Linked DNA regions of Homo sapiens: regions 2 and 3 are each linked to region 1. The links are contacts of gene promoters, found by promoter capture Hi-C in blood cells and fetal thymus (Javierre and others, 2016). All regions are on one chromosome and are shown on one strand. Each heading gives the region's core, a stretch centred on a gene start or on the middle of the fragment in contact. The rest is flanking DNA. Distances are from core to core; before and after follow the strand shown.

Region 1 (2,700 bases), core at 58-2,557:
GGGTCCGCTGCAGCCTCCCTCCCGGCAGAGCCGCCCTGCGCCCCACCCCGCCGCTCCCGAGCCCGGGGGCCCGACAGCTGCGACGGTGGCAACTCGGGTTTCGCAAACAGGGCGCAGCCCCTCGGAGGAAAAGTTCCCGCAGTGGCCGCGGGCGGCGGGCACATACTCACTTTCTCCACTCGTCGGCCAGAGCGAGAGCGCGGCGGAGAGAAACAGGAGCCCCCACAGCGAGGTCGGGGACCCTCCTCCGGAGCCAGACTTCATTCCTTTTATTTGGGATGAAATTCCCCTTTCTCAAAAAAAAAAAAAAAAAAAAAAAAGAAAAGAAAAGAAAAAAAGGAAATGAAAGGAAACAAGTCTCAAACTCAGTCTTCGCTCCCCCTCCAAAAACAAGGGCGAAGGAAACAATACTCCGAAGGCGGCGCCGCCGGGGCCCTCCGGGTGCGCGGACGGGGCGGGCGGCGCGGGGCGGCCCCTCAGCGCCGGCAGCAGCGGCCCAGGGCTCGGCGGAGTCGGGAACCCGAGGCGCGCCGGGGCGGGCTGTCGGCGTCGTCGGCCTCCATTTTCAAACCCGGAGAGGCAGGAAGGGGGGAAAACTGCAAAGAAAGGGGGCAAAGCCCAAATCTGCCTAGGCGAGGAAAAACAAGCCCGGCCCTGGCCGCGCGGGAGGCGGCCGGACGCCCGAGCTTCCGCCGCGGGAGGGCGCGACGCAGTTCGCAAGATCGCCCCGAAGTCCGGGTCACAGGCGAGGCCGGCGAGGGGCAGAAACGCGGAGTCAAAATGAATGAGCGGCTCCCCCTCCTCCTCCTCCTCCTGGCTCCGCTCGCCGCCGCCTCCTCCCTCAGCGCCGCCGCCGCCGCGGCGAGCTCCTTCCCAAATCCAGGACACACACAAAGCGGCGGGCCGGCCGCGCCGCGCTCAGCACTCCCGCCGCGCCGCCCGGCTCTGCGCCGCCGCCCGCCCCGCGCCGGCCCCCGCCCGGCCCCCGCCCGCCGCCGCCTGCTCTGCGCGGGGGCTCCGGCTCGCTGAAGGTCACAGCCGAGGCGAGGCGCGCCGTGGAGCTGCCCCCGCGCGGGAGGGGCGTGGAGGGCGCGGGGGGATCCGGGGAGCGGGGCCGAGGGTCTGCGAGCGCCGGCCGTGGGCAGGCTCGCTGGCGGCGTCCCTCTCGCTCTCCCGCCTCTCTCGAGTTCGCCTGGTGCGCTCGCTCCTCCTCGGGTTTTTTCCCTTTTTTTTTCCGCTCAGCGGAGTTAATGCTGGTAAACAAGAGCCCCAGCCTCGCCGCGCCGCCGCCGCCGCTGCCACACACTGGGGGCTCGCGCGCGCGCGCGCGCCCTGGCCCGCGCACACGCGCCCGCTCGCACACTCGAGCGGCCACCGCCGCAGCAGCGGCGCGCCGAGGGCCCGGCCCAGGCCGGCGCGCGCAAAAAACCGGAGCCCGGTTCCCCAAGACGTGCGGAGCGGAGCCCGGGCGTGGGGCGCGAGACTGCGAGGCGCCGCCCCCATCTCCCGCCCCACCGCCTCCCGCGCGCACACAGAGACACGCGCGCGTGCCCACCCGCTCCCGCCCCCACCGCACTGCGCCGGCCACCCCGCACGCGCCCTCCCCTCCCGCCCGACTCCAAAAACAATGCCCCCGCCGCCGGTCCGGTCTCGGCGGGGCAGGGGTGGGTAGCCAGGGAAAGGCTAGGCAGGGGAGGGGTGGGCAGGAGAGGGGAGGGGTGGGCGGGGAGTGCGGGGCTGGGAGAGGTTCATTGAAAACAACAACAGCGCGGCTGGAAAGCGCGTTTCCCCGGTTCTTGAAAAGCTTCATTGTTTCTTGCAGCTGTTGCAAAATAAATAAATGCGTGCATGCGGCATTTTTTTCGCTGCGTACTGGAAAGCCCGAACGTGGCGGAAGGGGCGCACCTGGGAGAAAGGGGACCCCCCCCCCAGGCTACTACGCCGGGCACTTTCACGCCAGGCTGGGGTGCCCGCGGCGTTGCGACCGTGGAGCCCGGAGTTTGGGGGCTCAGGGGGAGCGGAGGGGGAAGGGCGCGGCCCGTGTGGCTCGGCCCAGAGTGGCTCGAGGAGAGAGGACCCCGCCGCCCCTCGCGGGCCCCGCGCCCCGGAAGGGGGGCCCAGACAGGCAGCGCCGCGTGCCCCGGGCGCGTCCCCGCGGCGGCCGCCAGAGGGCGCGGCGGGCGCTGGGGAGGGCAGCCCGCGGAGAGTCGCCTCCCTCCCTCCGGGGGAGGAAATGTGGGGGCCCGGGCTGGGGGCCGACTCGGCTGGGTCGCGCTGGCGTGGCCTCCCGGACCAGCCGCCCGCCCTGAGCGCTCTCCGCGGCCTCGCGCAGCTCAGGGCTCCACCACGTGGGCGGCTGCGGGGAGCGGCCGGGGCGCGTGCACGCTGCGGGTCTCCGAAGCTCGGGGGGCGTGTCCGGGTCCCGGGGCGCCGAGGAGGGGGTGGAGGCTGGGGCCGGGAAGCCTCCCTTGGCCGCGGTCCCGACCCGGGAACACGCCGCATGCACTCGGGATCAGCGGCTACTGCGGAAACCCACCCGCACCTGTCTCGGGTCCTCCCAGGCACGTTCCTCTTGCTTCGTTTGCTACGTAAGTGACTGGAAACCAGTACCGACCCTAAGTCTCCGCGGTTGTTTTCTTGAATGTGCAGGAGGAGAGGTTTCCCCAAAGCGAGACTCCCCTAGGACTGCCATCTAATGAA
Region 2 (2,700 bases), core at 75-2,574, 560 kb before region 1:
GAGGTTCCTTGATGTCTAAGTTGCATTTTCTCTGCTTCTCTCTTTTGGACATAAAGGCTCTTACAGATGCTCACATGTTCCAAGTCCTGCTTCTCCCTTGCCTGCTCCCTGAGAACATCCTGCTCTTCTCCAGCAGACATGTTTCTCCTGTCAGCTGCTCCTGTGGGACACTATGTGCCTAGAATACTTTTTGCTTACTTAACAAAGAAGGAAATTGCTTTTTTTCTCTGGGACTCTTCCTAATCCTATATTTCTGTGGTTGAAGATATGCTCTTAACTTACACAAGTCTCATTTTTGTTTTTATTATTATTATTTTCAATGTGGGGAAGCCAAAGAAAAACCACATGGCACAGGTTACTCTCATATACTTTATCTGCTTTCTATTTCTTGAATCTCCTAAAGCTTTAATGTTTTAGAGCACTGCATTTCTGTCTTTCCTTTTCTGACATTATACCCTTATAATGTACCTTTTCCTAAATATATGAGAATAATGATTTAAATAATAGAATCATGTTTTAAAATGACATGTTATTAGTATTAATATGTAACATAAATATATAATCATATATCTCTAAATAAATAACACAACATATAATAATATATATCAAATAATAGGCAGGGCACAGTGACTTACACCTGTAATCCCAGAACTTTGGGAGGCCGAAGCAGGCGGACCATTTGAGCCCAGGAGTTCGAGACAGCTTGGGCAACATGGCAAAACCCTGTCTCAAATTAATACAACTAATACATAATTACAAATACAAAAAATTAGCCAGGCGTTGTAGCATACACCTGTAGTCCCAGCTATTCCAGAGGCTGAGGTAGGAGGACTGCTTGAGACCGGGAGGCAGAGGTTGCAGTGAGCAAAGATCATGCCACTGGACTCCAACCTGGGTGACAGAGTGAGACCCCTTCTCAAAAATATAATAATAATGATTTTTTTAAAACCACACTAGCTACCAATTATTGACCACCTTCTGTGTCAGGCTTTTGCTAAGTGCTTTACAGATGTCATCTCCTTTCATTCTTAGTCCTCTCTGTGTAGTGGATACTGTTAGTATTCCCATGTTCAAATGTAGCATCTAAAGCTGAGAGAAGTGAGGTCACTTCCAGGGTCACACAGGCAGGAAGCGATAAAGCTGGAAAGTGGCCCAGCAGAGCCCTGCTTATTCAACGCTAGTGTCCAAGCTCCTGACCATGGCACACATTACATTCACTGATGTAGACTGGAAACCCCACAATGCATTCAACAGAGCAAAGCCTTTACCTGTATGTATCAGGTGATAAAAAGATACCCAGATGTAATTCTTTTCTCATGTTGGCTATGGAAAATCCCATTTGTTATCTTTTGGGATTGGTTTCTCATCAGATTCTGATCAGTGATATTCACACAAAGCCTTTCCTTTATACTGGTGCTCAATATTCTTGCCAAATTCCAGAGTTTTTAAAAGGAAACTCTGTTGCCTTAGTAATACCAGAAATTGCATTTGTTTATTGCTTGTTAAAACGAGTCTCCATCCCTATGAGATCTGAAACTTGTCTGCAATGAGATAGTGTCTCCTCTTGTGCTCTGTAGAATTACTGCGTATAAACTTTCATTCAATAAAATATGCCATGGCTTAAGTTGTGCACCTGCCAAATTAACATACTGCCACATTCTGTTATTCAAAATTTTCTGTCTTTTCATCTGTCTAGTGTATTTCTTAAGCTACCAAGTACATTGTGGATACACTAGATAATAAATCCTCAAATCATCCCTGGCAGGTAGCCAGAAATGGAAAGGAGAAAATATTGCTCTCAAACATTACACATAAGAAAATGGAAACACACAAGATTACCCGAAATTGACTGATGCTTTAAGTAAGTTGTAGATGGATGTAAGACTATAATTTAGTTATTTCTTGATGTAGTACTCTCAATTCCTTTTTTATTAAATATAAAACTAAAGTAATTTTATTTTCTATTTTGCCTTTTCTTTTATGTGAATAGTGTACTCACAATGAGCTTCAGAAGGCTCATTGTGGGTTGCATTAGCTTGATAGCCTCCATTTCTGGCTGTGTTAGTGCCAGGACCATGAAATAGCCTGCAACAGCAACCTGAGGAGGTGAGGGGTAGGATGTGCTTCATTCTTTGTGCAATTGCGTGTTGTATTCATCTTTTTAATAAAATATTTTAGACACATATATATGTAGTATTATGTAAATTCTGTAGTGTAAAGAATAGTATACACACTACTAAGCTTACAAAATCTATTTCTGATAAATAGAAGCTTGTTATGCATTCTTCCCAATACCATTTTATTCCCATACATTATAGGCAATTATTATGCTGAAATTTAGTGTTTTTCATTCCTCTGAATGTTTTTGTACCTTTACTGTGTATATGTATAGCATATATATATGTGTGTATATATATATAAAATTTGTCATATTTTAAAACTTTATATGTATGTTTCCTTCTGTAACTTCCTTTTTTCCCATCTGTATTTTTGAGATATATCTCTACCAATTGATATAATCCAGCTCTAGTCTTTTCATTTTAGACCTCCATATGGTGTGTAATTGTCTGACTTTCCTCTAATTTAATTGTCTATTTTGATGAGGGTGAACATGTGAATTGTTTCCAATTTTTTACTACTGTAAACACTACTTTCATGATCATGCTTATATAAGTCTCTTTGGGCACATATGCAGGATTA
Region 3 (2,738 bases), core at 120-2,619, 610 kb before region 1:
AATATTTCTTATACCACTTCTCGTTAAAGGGTTAAAAAGTACTAATATGGTTTCATAGCACGGGATGATGACTTTGCAAAAAAGGATTCCTATAACTGCAAATAGATTTTCCAAGTTGGAAAACTGAAAAATCTAATTTCAGAAATATAAGTAGGCATTCAACATATATGCCAATATGCCAATCACAAAAGAACAAGACATACGTATCTATTTACTTCCAGACAGAGCAAAGATAAACTAATTTTATAATGCTTTCTACCCACTATAGGCATTGTACATAGATTAAATAAAACTTTTCCAGGAAAACATGCCATATACTTGAAGCCAATAAGATACAATTTCCAGATATTTAGCAAAGTCCAGTATAGGGAAGGGAATGAAGAATGGGTAAATTCACAAAGTAGTAAGATTTCATAAATCATCTAAAATGAGTAAGCACTAGAATTCAAGTACAAGATTCAAATAAGGTTAAGTGATAACCAGAAAAGGCCATACAAAGTAAATCCATTTAATACAGAGACCAAATTTTACAATAAATAATAGGAATAAAAAGCTTGATTTGGACATTCTCTTGAAAAACTTTTAGTTTATCTTATATGTAATACAATTCAGATTATAATGAAAACTACGTGCTTATTCTTAGAACATAAAAAGAGCAAATTAAATGTTGCCTTTGTGGCAAAATTTTTTCCAAAAAATTGTATGCTAGCCCAATTCAAAATCATTTGAGTTTCACAGGGCAATCATAAAGGTTTTGCTTTCAAAACACTGAAAAGTTACATTAAGCTTCCCAAGTGCATCTCTTAATGCTTTAATTTTCAAATCATTCTCCCTTTAATGCCTGTACCTCAAAAGCATTTTTGGTCTTTCTCGTTTACTTTTTAACTGGTCTGGTGAATGCTGTAATATTCAAGAATCACCTGAGAAGCTTAACACACAAACAAATTACAAGTCAGGACAGAAGCACATGCTAAACGAAGATGGGTTTCTGAATGGGTACTAACTTTATAAGTCATACATCAGTGAGTATTTTGCTTTCCTACACAACTTCTCCGGCAACCTCATAACTGCACGAACTTGGATAACAAATTCATAGCCAATGAGAAACCCCTGTGTGTGTATTTATATTAACTGTATATATAACAACAGGGGATATAAGTCTTGGTCTGAATACCTTAGGGTATGTAAATGTATCTTGATCAGGACCACATGTATAAATAATTTTTCAGTAGTGTAATATAATACTGTACCAAGGATGTCAGGGAGTTCCTTTTCATATAGAGTCTCTCCAAGTACTGCAGTCCCTCATCTTTCAGTAACTCCAATGGAAAATGGTGCAGATTCCTATAATTTAAGAACAAATTCTTGTGCTTTTCTAGCCTTGCCACAGAGATCGTCTTACAAAGTTCGGACGCCATGACTGAATATATCCCATCAGGCACGCTGCAGCACTATATCTTGTCAAAATTGGTCCATTTCTATAAAGAGAACGAGAAAATTTATTCATTGTAAGATTTTTTACAAGAATTGCCATATAAACCAGTTAGCACACAGAGCCACTTGAAGACACTGAAAAAAATAATTAATACATTCAATCCTACATTTTACTTTCAAAACTAAAACTGTCACACATATTTAGGAGGAGATTAAAATGAATAACAATTTAATAAAAATACTCTGATTAAGCAATATTTATTACTTATTAGAAATAGTCCTAATGGAAAAAAATAGTTTTTGCACTTGAGATAGGAAACCTTGTGTAAGAAAAACAGTGACCAGTTTCATAACATACAACCAAAGGAGAAGCTTAAAAATCAAATGCAGCAAACCCCATTTCTTTTATGAACTACCTCATTTTGTATTTAGCTTAAGGTACTTCAAAAATATTAAAATATATATTATTTATATCTAGAGCACTAATAGCTTCATTTTCTTCACTTCCTAATATATAAATATTGTCCTATATTCTGATTTTTTTCTTTATCTCTTTATTCTTTTCTTTCTTCTTATTTTTTTTTAGAGACAGGGTCTCACTCTGTTGCCCAGGCTGGGGCGCAGTGACTCAATCATAGCTCACTGTAGCCTCAACTCCTGGGCTCAAGTGATCCTCCCACCTCAGCCTCCCAAGTAGCTGGTACTATAGAGAGCACCACCACACTCAGCTAATTGTTTTACTTGTTCGTAGAGATGGGGGTCTCACTGTGTTGCCCAGGCTAGTCTCAAATTCCTGAGCTCAAGCAATCCTCCCACCTCAGCCTCCCCAAGTGCTGGGATTACAGTCATGAGCCACGATGCCTCGCCTCTTTGTTTTTAGCTTTATGGATTATCAGAGGCATCAAAGAAATAGATCCAGGGCCACACAGTCTCATTAGTTTAAATTATTTCAATGAAAGAAGAAACACTGCACTCAGAAACAAGAATCCTGTATTATTCTATAATATTACAATGTCTCTGGGTCTCCAGTTGCCTAATATGCAGAATGGAGATAGCAATTAATGTACTGGTTTAAAGGCCTGAGTCCAGGGCAGATTATTATAAATTCTCTTCTAGCTCCAAAATTGACAAGGGCAAGAAGACAAGTAACATTTGCCGTTTTATCCACTAGGCACAGAGCTAAAACAAACTTCACCATCAGTTAACACAAAAAGAAACAAACTCAAGGCTTCAGTAATTTGTCCAAGGTTAGACCGTTCACAAGGGATAAAAGCAAGGGTTTGATACCAGGTCCAGTGGATTTC

What was found. The method cuts DNA at HindIII sites, captures the fragments that hold promoters and counts their contacts. A CHiCAGO score of 5 or more calls a contact.
Region 2: a contact is called between a fragment that was not itself captured here and the fragment with the promoter of IGF1R in region 1, in 1 of 17 cell types (endothelial precursors). The highest score is 6.8, in endothelial precursors.
Region 3: a contact is called between a fragment that was not itself captured here and the fragment with the promoter of IGF1R in region 1, in 1 of 17 cell types (total CD8 T cells). The highest score is 5.1, in total CD8 T cells.

What each region holds. Positions count from the first base shown.
Region 1 is chr15:98,647,146-98,649,845 of GRCh38, reverse strand. It overlaps IGF1R (insulin like growth factor 1 receptor), which reads right to left and starts at 1,307. Exons shown (of 21, transcript NM_000875.5): 1 at 171-1,307. The coding sequence starts at 264. It overlaps IRAIN (IGF1R antisense imprinted non-protein coding RNA), which reads left to right. Exons shown (of 1, transcript NR_126453.2): 1 at 1-2,700. RefSeq lists silencers at 1,283-1,552, 1,923-1,982, 2,043-2,512, 2,523-2,572 and an enhancer at 2,584-2,700. The HindIII fragment of the contact is 3,709 bases long and covers 1-1,806 here.
Region 2 is chr15:99,207,971-99,210,670 of GRCh38, reverse strand. The region is part of intron 8 of TTC23 (tetratricopeptide repeat domain 23); the gene reads left to right. Among named protein-coding and RNA genes, the nearest start is that of TTC23, 40 kb to the left of the region's middle. The HindIII fragment of the contact is 1,838 bases long and covers 406-2,243 here.
Region 3 is chr15:99,254,638-99,257,375 of GRCh38, reverse strand. It overlaps LRRC28 (leucine rich repeat containing 28), which reads right to left. Exons shown (of 10, transcript NM_144598.5): 2 at 1,251-1,478. The coding sequence starts at 1,418. Among named protein-coding and RNA genes, the nearest start is that of LRRC28, 4.5 kb to the right of the region's middle. The HindIII fragment of the contact is 878 bases long and covers 931-1,808 here.